3 separate regions of the Homo sapiens genome follow, and all the other regions are linked to region 3. Evidence: promoter capture Hi-C in 16 types of primary human blood cells and fetal thymus (Javierre and others, 2016). All regions are on one chromosome and are shown on one strand. Each heading gives the region's core, a stretch centred on a gene start or on the middle of the fragment in contact. The rest is flanking DNA. Distances are from core to core; before and after follow the strand shown.

What was found. The method cuts DNA at HindIII sites, captures the fragments that hold promoters and counts their contacts. A CHiCAGO score of 5 or more calls a contact.
Region 1: a contact is called between a fragment that was not itself captured here and the fragment with the promoter of OR1J4 in region 3, in 1 of 17 cell types (endothelial precursors). The highest score is 5.7, in endothelial precursors.
Region 2: a fragment that was not itself captured here is called in contact with the fragment with the promoter of OR1J4 in region 3 in 8 of 17 cell types (endothelial precursors, M2 macrophages, megakaryocytes and 5 more); the score reaches 9.1 in endothelial precursors.

What each region holds. Positions count from the first base shown.
Region 1 is chr9:122,728,090-122,731,876 of GRCh38, forward strand. No RefSeq gene overlaps it. Among named protein-coding and RNA genes, the nearest start is that of OR1L4, 6.0 kb to the left of the region's middle. The HindIII fragment of the contact is 2,195 bases long and covers 1,157-3,351 here.
Region 2 is chr9:122,752,936-122,756,930 of GRCh38, forward strand. No RefSeq gene overlaps it. Among named protein-coding and RNA genes, the nearest start is that of OR1L6, 13 kb to the left of the region's middle. The HindIII fragment of the contact is 1,504 bases long and covers 1,623-3,126 here.
Region 3 is chr9:122,517,089-122,520,797 of GRCh38, forward strand. OR1J4 (olfactory receptor family 1 subfamily J member 4) reads left to right here and starts at 2,053. Exons shown (of 1, transcript NM_001004452.1): 1 at 2,053-2,994. The coding sequence starts at 2,053. The coding sequence ends at 2,994. It also overlaps a transcript of OR1J2 not described here. The HindIII fragment of the contact is 966 bases long and covers 1,794-2,759 here.

The DNA of each region.
Region 1 (3,787 bases), core at 1,004-3,503, 210 kb after region 3:
CACCTAGCCTACAACATCAGGGTTCCATTCCTGTCACCCTTTTCACTAAATCCTCCTAATTATAAGGAAGTAACCAGCAAGCCAGAAAAGCTAATTTGCAGTAGCCTCTGTATTCGTTTAAGCACACCTGACTTTTACCACTATCTCCCACCAATCACTTGATTTTGAGATGCTGGCCTAGAAGACATATTTACTTTCTATTTCCTTTATTTATATGTCATAGTTTTCTCATACTCAACTAAGTGCCATAGCAACTTTAGAATGTGAGAATTCCTGGCATATATTAATAAATAAATTCACTAATTACAGCCTACAATAATTTTTAAAGCTAATTAAGCCCTTTGACCCCAAGAATCATAACTTTTATTTTTCAGTTCTGAGATCGGCCTGACTTTTTTTCCTCAACAAGTGCATGGCCACTAAAAAAAATCACGATTTTTTTTAATGAAAAACTTTAAGATATTCCCAGAAATTCAAACTAAAAGAAATTCTAAATAACAAGTGACCATGAGATAGCACTTTGGGATAAAAAAAGTTTCCAGTCTACCCCTTTGGTAAATCCTAAACTTCTCAGTTGGAATTGGAGGATTCTCTGTCAGGATATGATGCCAGTTTCCCCAAGTCACAATAAGGGACTGTCAGTGGGTAAGAAGCATCTGAAGACTTTAATAAGATTTTTTCTTTTCAAACATGAGAGCCCAGATGTTAACTCAGAAATGTGCTAATAAGCATCAGTAAGAGGAAAAAAAAATCTTTCTTGAAGGTAGATATAATCAGAAGAAGGGTCTACGCAGACCTCTGAGCATCTTGCCACATCAGGTGGAATGCTAGAATACAATAGAATAATAATACTATAAGCCTGTCCTTTGTTAAAAGAATTATAAATGTATTGAGTCCTTTTAGTGCAAGTTCATTTCAAAAACATAAATATTAGAGATTTTGCTCAATACTGAACTAAAAAAAAAATCCAGCTCATTGAACATATGTTGCCTGTCTATTAGAGCAAATGATATCAACTAGGAACACTGTGTAGCATGAGTTCTGAGGAGAATGTGAGAGAAGAATAAAAAGTATTTCTGGCATTGAAAAGTTTGATAGAGAATATATTATTGAGGGGGACTTAATAGGAATAGTCACAGAATCCAAGAAAAGAGGAAGCTTCAAGAGGCAGGGGCTATTAATAAGTGACCAAATATGATGAAAGTTTAATAAGCAAAGTAAGCCTGAAGATTGTTCATTGGCTTTAATGATATGGTGGTCATTGATGCCCTTGGTGAATTGGCAATGGAGAAATGGAAAAGGAGCCAGATTGGAATATGTTAAGGAATAAATGGAGGTGAGAATCTGGAGACAGTGATTATAATTTGTGTCAATGTTGTTCTATTGTTTTGTGGCTTGCATTGCTTCTAAAGAGAAATCAGCTATCATTTTTATCTTTGTTTCCCTCTTAGGTAAATTGTTTTTTTGTCCTGGCTGATTTTATTTTTGGTTTTTAACAATTTGACTATAGCTCAGCTGTATATGGAATTATTTATGTTTATCTGGCTTGGGGTTTATTGAGCTTCTTGGATCTTGGAAAGATATTTTTCTTCACATTTGGAAAAATTTAGTCCAATGTTTATTCAAATATCATTTTGCCCCAAACTCTCTCCTCTCTTTGTGGGGCTCTAATTATATGATTGTTAGACCTTGGAGGGCAGCTTAGATTTTTTAATCCCTCTAAGTAGCCTCATGAAAATGGGACAACTAGAACACTAAAACAAGAACAACTTGAAGACACAAAGAATTCCCATAAATCCCCAAATACAGGAAGCTAGAGACAAATAACCAACAGTTACATGATCCATATGTTTTTAGAATCTGCGCAGGAGGAAACAGAGGCAACCAACAGTATCTACCTGAGCTGAGAATAGGAAAAACCCAAGTATTAATTAGCAAGTACTCACCAAAATTTGTTGTGGGCCAATTTAGGAACAGAAGTTAAGGCTTAAAAGGGTTTTGCCCATTCAACAATAGTGAATGTCTAATGATGTCAGAGCAATCTAGGCCTGGGCGGCCAGCATCCCAGAACCTGCAAGTACTCTGCCACAGACAATGATCACGCACCCTGCCATATGACACTGCTGCTGCTGCTGCTGGCACATGCGAACAAGGATGGATCCCACTGCCACCACCCATGAAATGCTTTGGCTGGCACCATCCATAGAGGTGTAGTGACCAGTGGTACAGGAGCATCTCAGCCTTAGTGCACTGGGTTCCTAACCTCAAGGAACCAAGAACAAAGTCAGGGTCCAATACCAGTCCCCCAGATTTAGAGCATGCAGTCCAGGAGTGGGGAGTTGAGCCTTGGTCCCCTAATATCTTCTAGAAACAAAGCCAGTCAACTGAAGCCACCTTATACCACCATCAAACCCTCAGGGTCATTAAATAAGGTAAAAGAAAAAAAAAACCATTCAAAGGAAAGCAGCTTCAAAGATTGAAGGAGCATCAGCCCACAAAGATGAGAAAGAACCAGCACAAGAATTCTGACAACTTGAAAAGCCAGGGTGCCTTCTTCCCTCCAAACAACCATGCTAGCTCTCCATCGAGGGTTCTGAACCAGACTAAGATGGCTGAAATGACAGAAATAGAATTCAGAATATGGATAGAAATGAAGATCATTGAGATGGAGGAGTGTATTGAAACTCAATCCAGGTAAACTAAGAATCACAATAAAATGATACAGGAGCTGACAGACAAAATAGTCAGTATAGAAAAGAATATAACCAACCTGACAGAGCTGAAAAACACACTACAAGAATTTTATAATGCAGTCACAAGTATTAATAGCAGAATAGACCAAGCAGAGGAAAGAATATCAGAACTTGAAGTCTAGCTTTCTAAGACAGGCAAGAATAGAGAAAAGAGAATGAAAATAAATGAACAAAACCTCTGAGAAATATGGGATTATGTAAAGAGACCAAATCTACTGCCTATTGGTTTCCTTGAAAGAGATGGGGAGAATGGAAGCAACTCAGAAAACATTTTTCAGGATATAATCCATGAGAACTTCTCAAACATAGTTAGAGAGGCCAACATTCAAATTCAGGAAATGCAGACAACCTCAGGAAGATGCTTTACAAGAAGATCATCCCGAAGACACGTAATCATCAGATTCTCCAAGGTTGAAATGAAAGAAAAAATGTTAAAGGTAGCAAGAAAAAAAGGTCAGGTCACCAACAAAGGGAAGCCCATCAGACTAACAGAAGAATGCTCAGCAGAAACCCTATAAACCAGAAGAGATTGGGGGCAATATTCAAAATTCTTAAAGAAAAGAAATTCCAACCAAGAATTTAATATCCAGCCAAACTAAGCTTCATAAGCAAAGGAGAAATAAGATCCTTTTCAGAAAAGCAAATGCTGAGGGAATTTATTACCACCCGACCTTCCTTACAAGAGCTTCTGAAGGAAGCACTAAATATGGAAAGACTGTTACCAGACACACTGCAAAAACACACTAAAGTACACAGACCAGTGACACTATAAATCAAACACACAAACAAATCAGCATAACAACCAGCTAACATCATGATGACAGGATCAAATCCACACATATCAATACTAACCTTGAATGTCAATGGGCTAAATGCCCCAATTAAAAAGCACAGAATGGCAAATTCAATAAAGAGCCAAGACCCTATGGTATGCTGTCTTCAAGAGACCCAGCTCACACACAATCACACTCATAGGCTCGAAATAAAGGGATGGAGAAAAATATACCAAGCAAATGGAAAACAGACAAAAGCAG
Region 2 (3,995 bases), core at 1,125-3,624, 240 kb after region 3:
TAACTTATAAATCCAATTAAGTTCTTTAGTCCTGAGAACACTAACTTACTTTTTTTTTTTTAACTTATTTTAAATTCCAGGATACATGTGCAGGACGTGTAGGTTTGTTACATGGGTAAACGTGTGCTATGGTGGTTTCCTGCACCTATCAACCCATCACCTAGGTATTAAGCCCCATATGCATTAGCTATTTATCCTGATGCTCTCCCTCCCCACTCCCACCCAGACCGCAGTGTGGGTTGTTCCCCTCCCTCTGTCCATGTTTTCTCGTTGTTCAGCTCCCACTTGTAAGTGAGAATATGCAGAGTTCAGTTTTCTGTTCTTGTGTTAGTTTGCTGAGGATAATAGATTCCAGCTCCATCCATGTCCCTGCAAAGGACATGATCTTGTTCCTTTTTATAACTTCATAGTATTCCATGGTGTATATGTACCACATTTTCTTTATGCAGTGTATCATTGATGGACATTTGGGTTGATACCATGTCTTTGCTATTGTGAATAGTGCTGCAATGAACATACGTGTGCATGTATCTTTATAATAGAATAATTTATATTCCTTTGGGTATATATCCAGTAATGGCACTGCTGGGTTGAATGGTATTTGTGGTTCTAGGTCTTTGAGGAATTGGCACACTATCTTCCACAATAGTTGAACTAATTTACATTCCCACCAACAGTATAAAAGTGTTCCTATTTCTCCAGTCTCACCAGCATCTGTTGTTTCTTGACTTTTTAATAATCACCATTCTGACTGTCATGAGATGGTATCTCATGGTGGTTATGATTTGCATTTCTCTAATGACCGTGATGTTGAGCTTTCTTTCATGTTTGTTGGCCGCGTAAATGTCTTCTTTTGAGAAGTGTCTGTTTATGTCTTTTGCCCACTTTTTAATGGGGTTGTTTATTTTTTTCTTGTAAATTTTTTAAGTTCCTTGTAGATTCTGGATATTTGACCTTTGTCAGATGGATATTTCTGATCTCACATTGCCATCAGCCCCAGACTTCTTTTTCTCAACAAATGCATGGCAAAAAAAAATCATAAAAGATGTTTTATGAATAATCCTAGAGATATTACCAAAAGTGTAAAGAAAAGGAAATTCTAGATAACAATTAACCACGAGAGTGCACTTTGGGATGAAAGAGTTCCTACTCTGACCCTCAGGTAAGTCCTAAACTTCTCAGTCAGAGCTGGAGTGTTTTCTCTGTCAAAATATGAAGCTACTTCCCACAAGACATCCTGTCACTCTTCAGAAGGAAAGAACTGCCATGAGCAAGGAGTATCTACAAAGTGTAGTAAGATTTTTGCTGTCCAATCAAGAGAGTCCAGAAGTCAACCTAGAAAGTCACTAATAAGCATGAGTAAGAGGAAATAAATAGATTATGAAGGTAGATATAATCACAGGGAGGGATTTCAACAGGCCTCTGGACATCTTGTCACATTGTCTCAAATGCTGCTACATAGTCCTTGAGAGTAGACAAGGAATCTCCTTGCCAGCTCCTTGTTTCACCATATTGGTATCCAGAAGGCTGGCTGAATACAATAGAGAAATAATACCATAGGTCTCTCATTTGTTGACAAAACACAAAAAGTTTAAAAAAATGTATTGGGTTTTTCCAATGTAAGCTTATTACATATATACAAATATTTGAGATTTAGCTCAATACTGAAATAAGGGGAATTCAGTTCACTGAACATATTTTACCTGTTTATCAGAGTAAGTGATGACAATTAGGAAGAGTGTGTAGCATGAGACCCAAGAAAAAAGTAGGGAAGAGGGCAGAGTATTTCTGGCATTGAAGAATCTAATAGAGAAAACATTATCAAAGAGGAATTAAAAGGAGTAGTCATAGAATTCAAGAGAAGAGTAAATTTGAAGAGGCAGGAGCCATTAACTGGTATCAAAATATGATGACAGTTTAACAAAATAAGGCTGAAGGTTGTCCATTGGCTTTAGTGACATGGTGGTGATTCATAACTTTGGTGAATGTGCAATGGAGAAATGGAAAACGAGCCAGATTGTGATGTGTTAAGGAATGAGTGAAGGTGAGAATGGAGAGAATGATTATAATCTGTGTCAATGTTGTTCCATGGTCTTATGACTTGCATTATTTTCAAAGAGAAATCAGTTGTAAGTCTTATCTTTAGTCCTCCTATAGGTGATACGTCTTTTTGCTCTGACTGGTTTTATTTTTTGGTTTTTAGCAATTTGATTACATATGGATTTCTTTGTGTTTATCCTACTTGGGGTTTATTAAGGCTTTTAAATCTATGGATAGATTTTTTTCTTCACATTTGATAACTTTTAGCCCAATATTTTTTAAATGTCTTTTTGCCCCAGTCCTTCTCTCCTCTCTGCAATTAGTAGATCCTCAAACAATCTATGAATTTTTTGATTGTTAGACTTCTGGTAGTGGCTTAAGTTTGAATCCCGCTGAATAGTCTGATAAAAGAAAGGTAAAACAACTAGAATAGTACAAGAATAACAATTCTTAAGACACAAAACATCCCTATAATGCCCAAAATACAAGCAGGTAGCAACAAAAGACCAAAAGCTATATGACCCACATGGTGTCAGATCTGAGCAAGAAGAAACAGAGGCAACCAACACTATCTGCCTGAGCTGAAAATGGGAAAAAAAATTAATTGGTAACTTCTCACAGGAATTTGTGCTGAGCCAATTTGAGAACAGAAGCTGAGACTGAAAGGGTTTTGTCCATTCTACTGTCATTTCAATGGGGCCTTAGTAAGCCCTGGTGATGCTGGAGCAGTCTAGGCCTTATTACCTCACAAAGCTACTCATCCAATAATCTCTTCCAGTACAAATCCCACACCAAGGATAAAATCAGAAAATAGAGCCAAGGTTTACCAAGATAAAAAAAAAAAATCTAGGAATAAAAGGAAAGTTAGAGACATAAATGAATAAGAGGAACAAAGCCAGATATCTTAGAAAGTACAGGGCCTATCTTTAAACACATTATGAGAACAACAGCAAACAACAGAATAATATATTAAGATCCTCAAGAAAAGAATAGATGAGTCAAGATTTCATATCCAACTAAAATTACTTTCAAATATAAGGGCCACTTTCACTATTCAAGAACTCTTAAGGAACTTACCATAGAACAAGCTTTAGACAACCAAAATGACTGGAGAGACATCAACTTAAGAACTGTTGATAAACAGTAAGCATATATTTAACTGTAGAACTAACATTAAATGATGGTTACAAGGTAAGAGAATACTGTTCATGGATAAATGCTCTGACTATATAGTTACATACAACAATAAACAAAATGTGGGAATAATGAGAGGAGGATATAAAAAATAAAATAAGCTTACTTATTGCCTATTAATTATTAACTTGGAATTAAGAAGTATTAAGTCAGGTATTTTGAGAGAGGCAGAGAAGAGGTAGAGAATTACCAGCTAATTTTAATATTACTAATAATAGGGTACCAATAAATAATAACCAAAAAGGTAGGAGGCTGGTATATATTAAAAAACACAATGACAAAAACGTAACATGTGGACATTACTTGGAGTCTGATTTGAAAAGATCAACTGAAAAGAGTAATTTTTAAGACAAGAAAAATTGAATATGGTTTAGGCATTAGATGATATCAATGAGTTAATGCCACTATTTTCAGGGATAATGATATTTTTATTTTTAAATTCTCATTTCTGAAAGATGCATCCTGAAGTAGGTCAATGAATTTATGCGATATCTGCAATTTGCTTTAAAAGAGTCACCAGCAAATAAATGGAAGGAGGCATATAGATCAAACAAGATTGAAATAATTTTTTAAATTACTATGCTAGGTGATGTGTCATGGGGTTCAATTACACTATACTATTTTCTATACTTTTATTTGAAATGGTTATAATAAAGTGTTTAATAAATCACACATCATATTAGCAATACGTCTCCCATCTTTTCTTTTTTTTTTTTTTTTTTGAGATGGAGTTTCACTCTTGCTGCCCAGGCTGGGAGTGC
Region 3 (3,709 bases), core at 803-3,302:
TAGGCTCATAGTCTCATCTCCAGATTAGAGATGAGAAAACTGAAGCTCAGGCCAACTGGATCACTTCTCCAGAACTCACAAATATGAAGATATGAAGTGATGTTGCCAGGACTTGAATCTAGGGCTAATTGCAATGCTTTTGTCAGTACAACATACTACCCTCAGACACTAGGCTCTATCCTTAAGGTCACAGCCCCAGGGAGCCTTAAAATGCTGGAGTGAGCAGGTGCAGCCGGGGAACCTGGGCCAGGCATTCTTGCCCCTTTTCTCTATGGGTCCATTCGGAACTCTGTTATGTTGGCTGCCTTTTGGTAAGTTTCAAAGGAAGGATGGTATTCTCATATGAAATAGGAGTATGCTCAACTCACCAGCTTAAAGAAGCAAAGAATTTTAAGCCTATCCTTAACCTGTACAAAGCTCTTCTGAATTTTTCTCCCAATTAAGAACTGTTATAATGAAATCCTCACATTTTCTATTTACTTAGTATACGTTGGTATATATATTAGGCATTTGGCATTGCTTTTTGACTTAAAGGGAACTTTTCAATTAAGACACAGTGGCACTATAAACTCATTCCTACTGGCCTTGCAGGATTTGGTAACTTAGGTTTAGAATATCTTTTTGAGGTGTTTTTTTTTTCTTATGTTCCAGGGTACATGTGCAGGATGTGCAGGTTCGTTACACAGGTAAACGTGTGCCATGGTGGTTTGCTGCACCTATCAACCCCATCACCTAGGTATTAAGCCTGGCATTCGTTAGCTCTTTTTCCTGATGCTCTCACCCCCTCAAGCTCCCTAGACAGGTCCCAGTGTGTATTGTTCTCCTCCCTGTGTTCTCATTGTTCAGCTCTCACTTATAAGTGAGAACATGTGTTGTTTGGTTTTCTGTTCCTGCATTAGTTTGCTGAGGATAATGGCTTCCAGCTCCATCCATGTCCCTGCATAGGACATGGTCTCATTCCTTTTTATGTATGTTCATTGCAGCACTATTCCCAATAGCAAAGACATGGAATCAACTCAAATGTCCATCAATGATAGACTGGATAAAGAAAATGTGGCACATATATGCCATGGCTTTAGAATATTTTAATGGGTAGATAGTGGCTGTGGAGGAAGCTGGCATATTTTTCTCATTCCTGATTTTAATGGAAATGCTTTAAAATGTCTCCACTAGGTATGGTGTTTACTGTATTATTTAGTTTACTGAGTGTCTTAGTCGGTTGGGCTGCTATAGCTGGGTGACTTTAAACAGCAGACATTTATTTGTTACAGTTCTGGAGCCTGGGAAGCCCCAGATCAAGGTACCAGCAGATTTGGTTTCTGGTGCGGGTCCACTTTCTGGTTAGCAGATGGCTGCCTTCCTGCTGAGTCCTCACATGGCAATGCCAGAGACACTCTTGTGTTTCTTCTTATAAGGGCAATAATCCCATTCATGGGGTTCTACCCTCATGACCTAATTACCTCCTGAAGCTCTCACCTTTAAATATTTTGTGTAAGATTTACTTTTTTTATGGCAGTGATATTGTAATCAATAGACAAGTTTTTTTTCTCATCAACTTTATACATAATGAAAACTTTGGCTGTTTATCTTTGATCCAATTTCTTTTGGATATGTGTTATGGAAACTTCATCCCTATATGTTGCTTACTAATAGATTTTGAAGTCAAATTTTAAAAAGTTCAATATGTTACAACATGAAGGCTCATGACTAGCCTGATGATTGTTTTTAAAAGTACATAAACAATGGAAATTGGAAAGACGTTATCTTACGATCCATCTGCTAATACGGTGTGAAGCTTTCTCTTTACTGACTAGACATGGCTGGTCTTCTCTTCTATTTCAAACCCTCTACTCTCTTGGCGAATTATCCCATTTTGAGTGATAAAACCATCTACTTGAAATGATTTTTTGTAGGGACATAGCAATGTAGACAGACATTGGCATATTCATCAGTAGCAAGGATCTTATTCTTATCTGCTGCTGTAAATCAACATTTGTTTGTTTCTGCCTTTTTCAATGTCCCTCTATTTCCAGCAGAGAGAAGACTGTCAGCATGAAGAGGGAGAATCAGAGCAGTGTGTCTGAGTTCCTCCTCCTGGACCTCCCCATCTGGCCAGAGCAGCAGGCTGTGTTCTTCACCCTGTTCTTGGGCATGTACCTGATCACGGTGCTGGGGAACCTGCTCATCATCCTGCTCATCCGGCTGGACTCTCACCTTCACACCCCCATGTTCTTCTTCCTCAGCCACTTGGCTCTCACTGACATCTCCCTTTCATCTGTCACTGTCCCAAAGATGTTATTAAGCATGCAAACTCAGGATCAATCCATTCTTTATGCAGGGTGTGTAACTCAGATGTATTTTTTCATATTTTTCACTGATCTAGACAATTTCCTTCTCACTTCAATGGCATACGATCGGTATGTGGCCATCTGTCACCCCCTCCGCTACACCACTATCATGAAAGAGGGACTGTGTAACTTACTAGTCACTGTGTCCTGGATCCTCTCCTGTACCAATGCCCTGTCTCACACTCTCCTCCTGGCCCAGCTGTCCTTTTGTGCTGACAACACCATCCCCCATTTCTTCTGTGATCTTGTTGCCCTACTCAAGCTCTCATGCTCAGACATCTCCCTCAATGAGCTGGTCATTTTCACAGTGGGACAGGCAGTCATTACTCTACCACTAATATGCATCTTGATCTCTTATGGCCACATTGGGGTCACCATCCTCAAGGCTCCATCTACTAAGGGCATCTTCAAAGCTTTGTCCACCTGTGGCTCTCACCTCTCTGTGGTGTCTCTGTATTATGGCACAATTATTGGACTGTATTTTCTCCCCTCATCCAGTGCCTCCAGTGACAAGGACGTAATTGCCTCTGTGATGTACACGGTGATCACCCCATTGCTGAATCCCTTCATTTATAGCCTAAGGAACAGGGACATAAAGGGAGCCCTGGAGAGACTCTTCAACAGGGCAACAGTCTTATCTCAATGACATTTACTCTTCTTTATAACAGACATATGTACTGACCTATTTCCAGATCATAGATCCTTACTTCTGATCCCAGCAAGGGATAAGTGCTCAGTAACTCTCTGATGACTTGAATTGCATCCTGTTACAGTTATTCTCCCTTTTCCTCTTTAGTGCAAATTGTGAATTCTGAGTTTACATAATTGTTTATTTATCTTGCCTATTAGATTCAGAAATTACATAGTTAACAGAACTTAAATCCTTCATTTTATTTCCTGGAAATTTATTTGTTCTTAGGAATTGTTTAAATATGTTGACTAACAGGATTCCCTTGCCATAGAAAAGTTGAAGGATTGGGTACTTGTAAAGGCATTTCCCTTTCTTTCTTCCCATTCAGTTCTCTTCTCACATTTTTTATTGTTGTTGCTGATGGTGGTGGGTAAGGAGAAGAAACTATATAGTACCCTTTACAGATCCAAAAAGCTATTCACTGTCATAAGTTCAGCTGTTCCACTTCAGAACTTGAGGTTCCTCTTCTAGACTACAATAACTTTCATTCAACAGTTCACTTTCAGACCAATGTTTATGAAGCTTTCTGACTACACATGTGAGCTTCAATCACGCCGCAGACTTACTCCAGGTAATGAATGAGAAGAACAAAAAAGTCTTCACAGTCAGGAGCCTTCTGTTGCCGTCACTAAATTTGATCCTTTTCCCATTCAGTGTCTTCGTTGTCTTT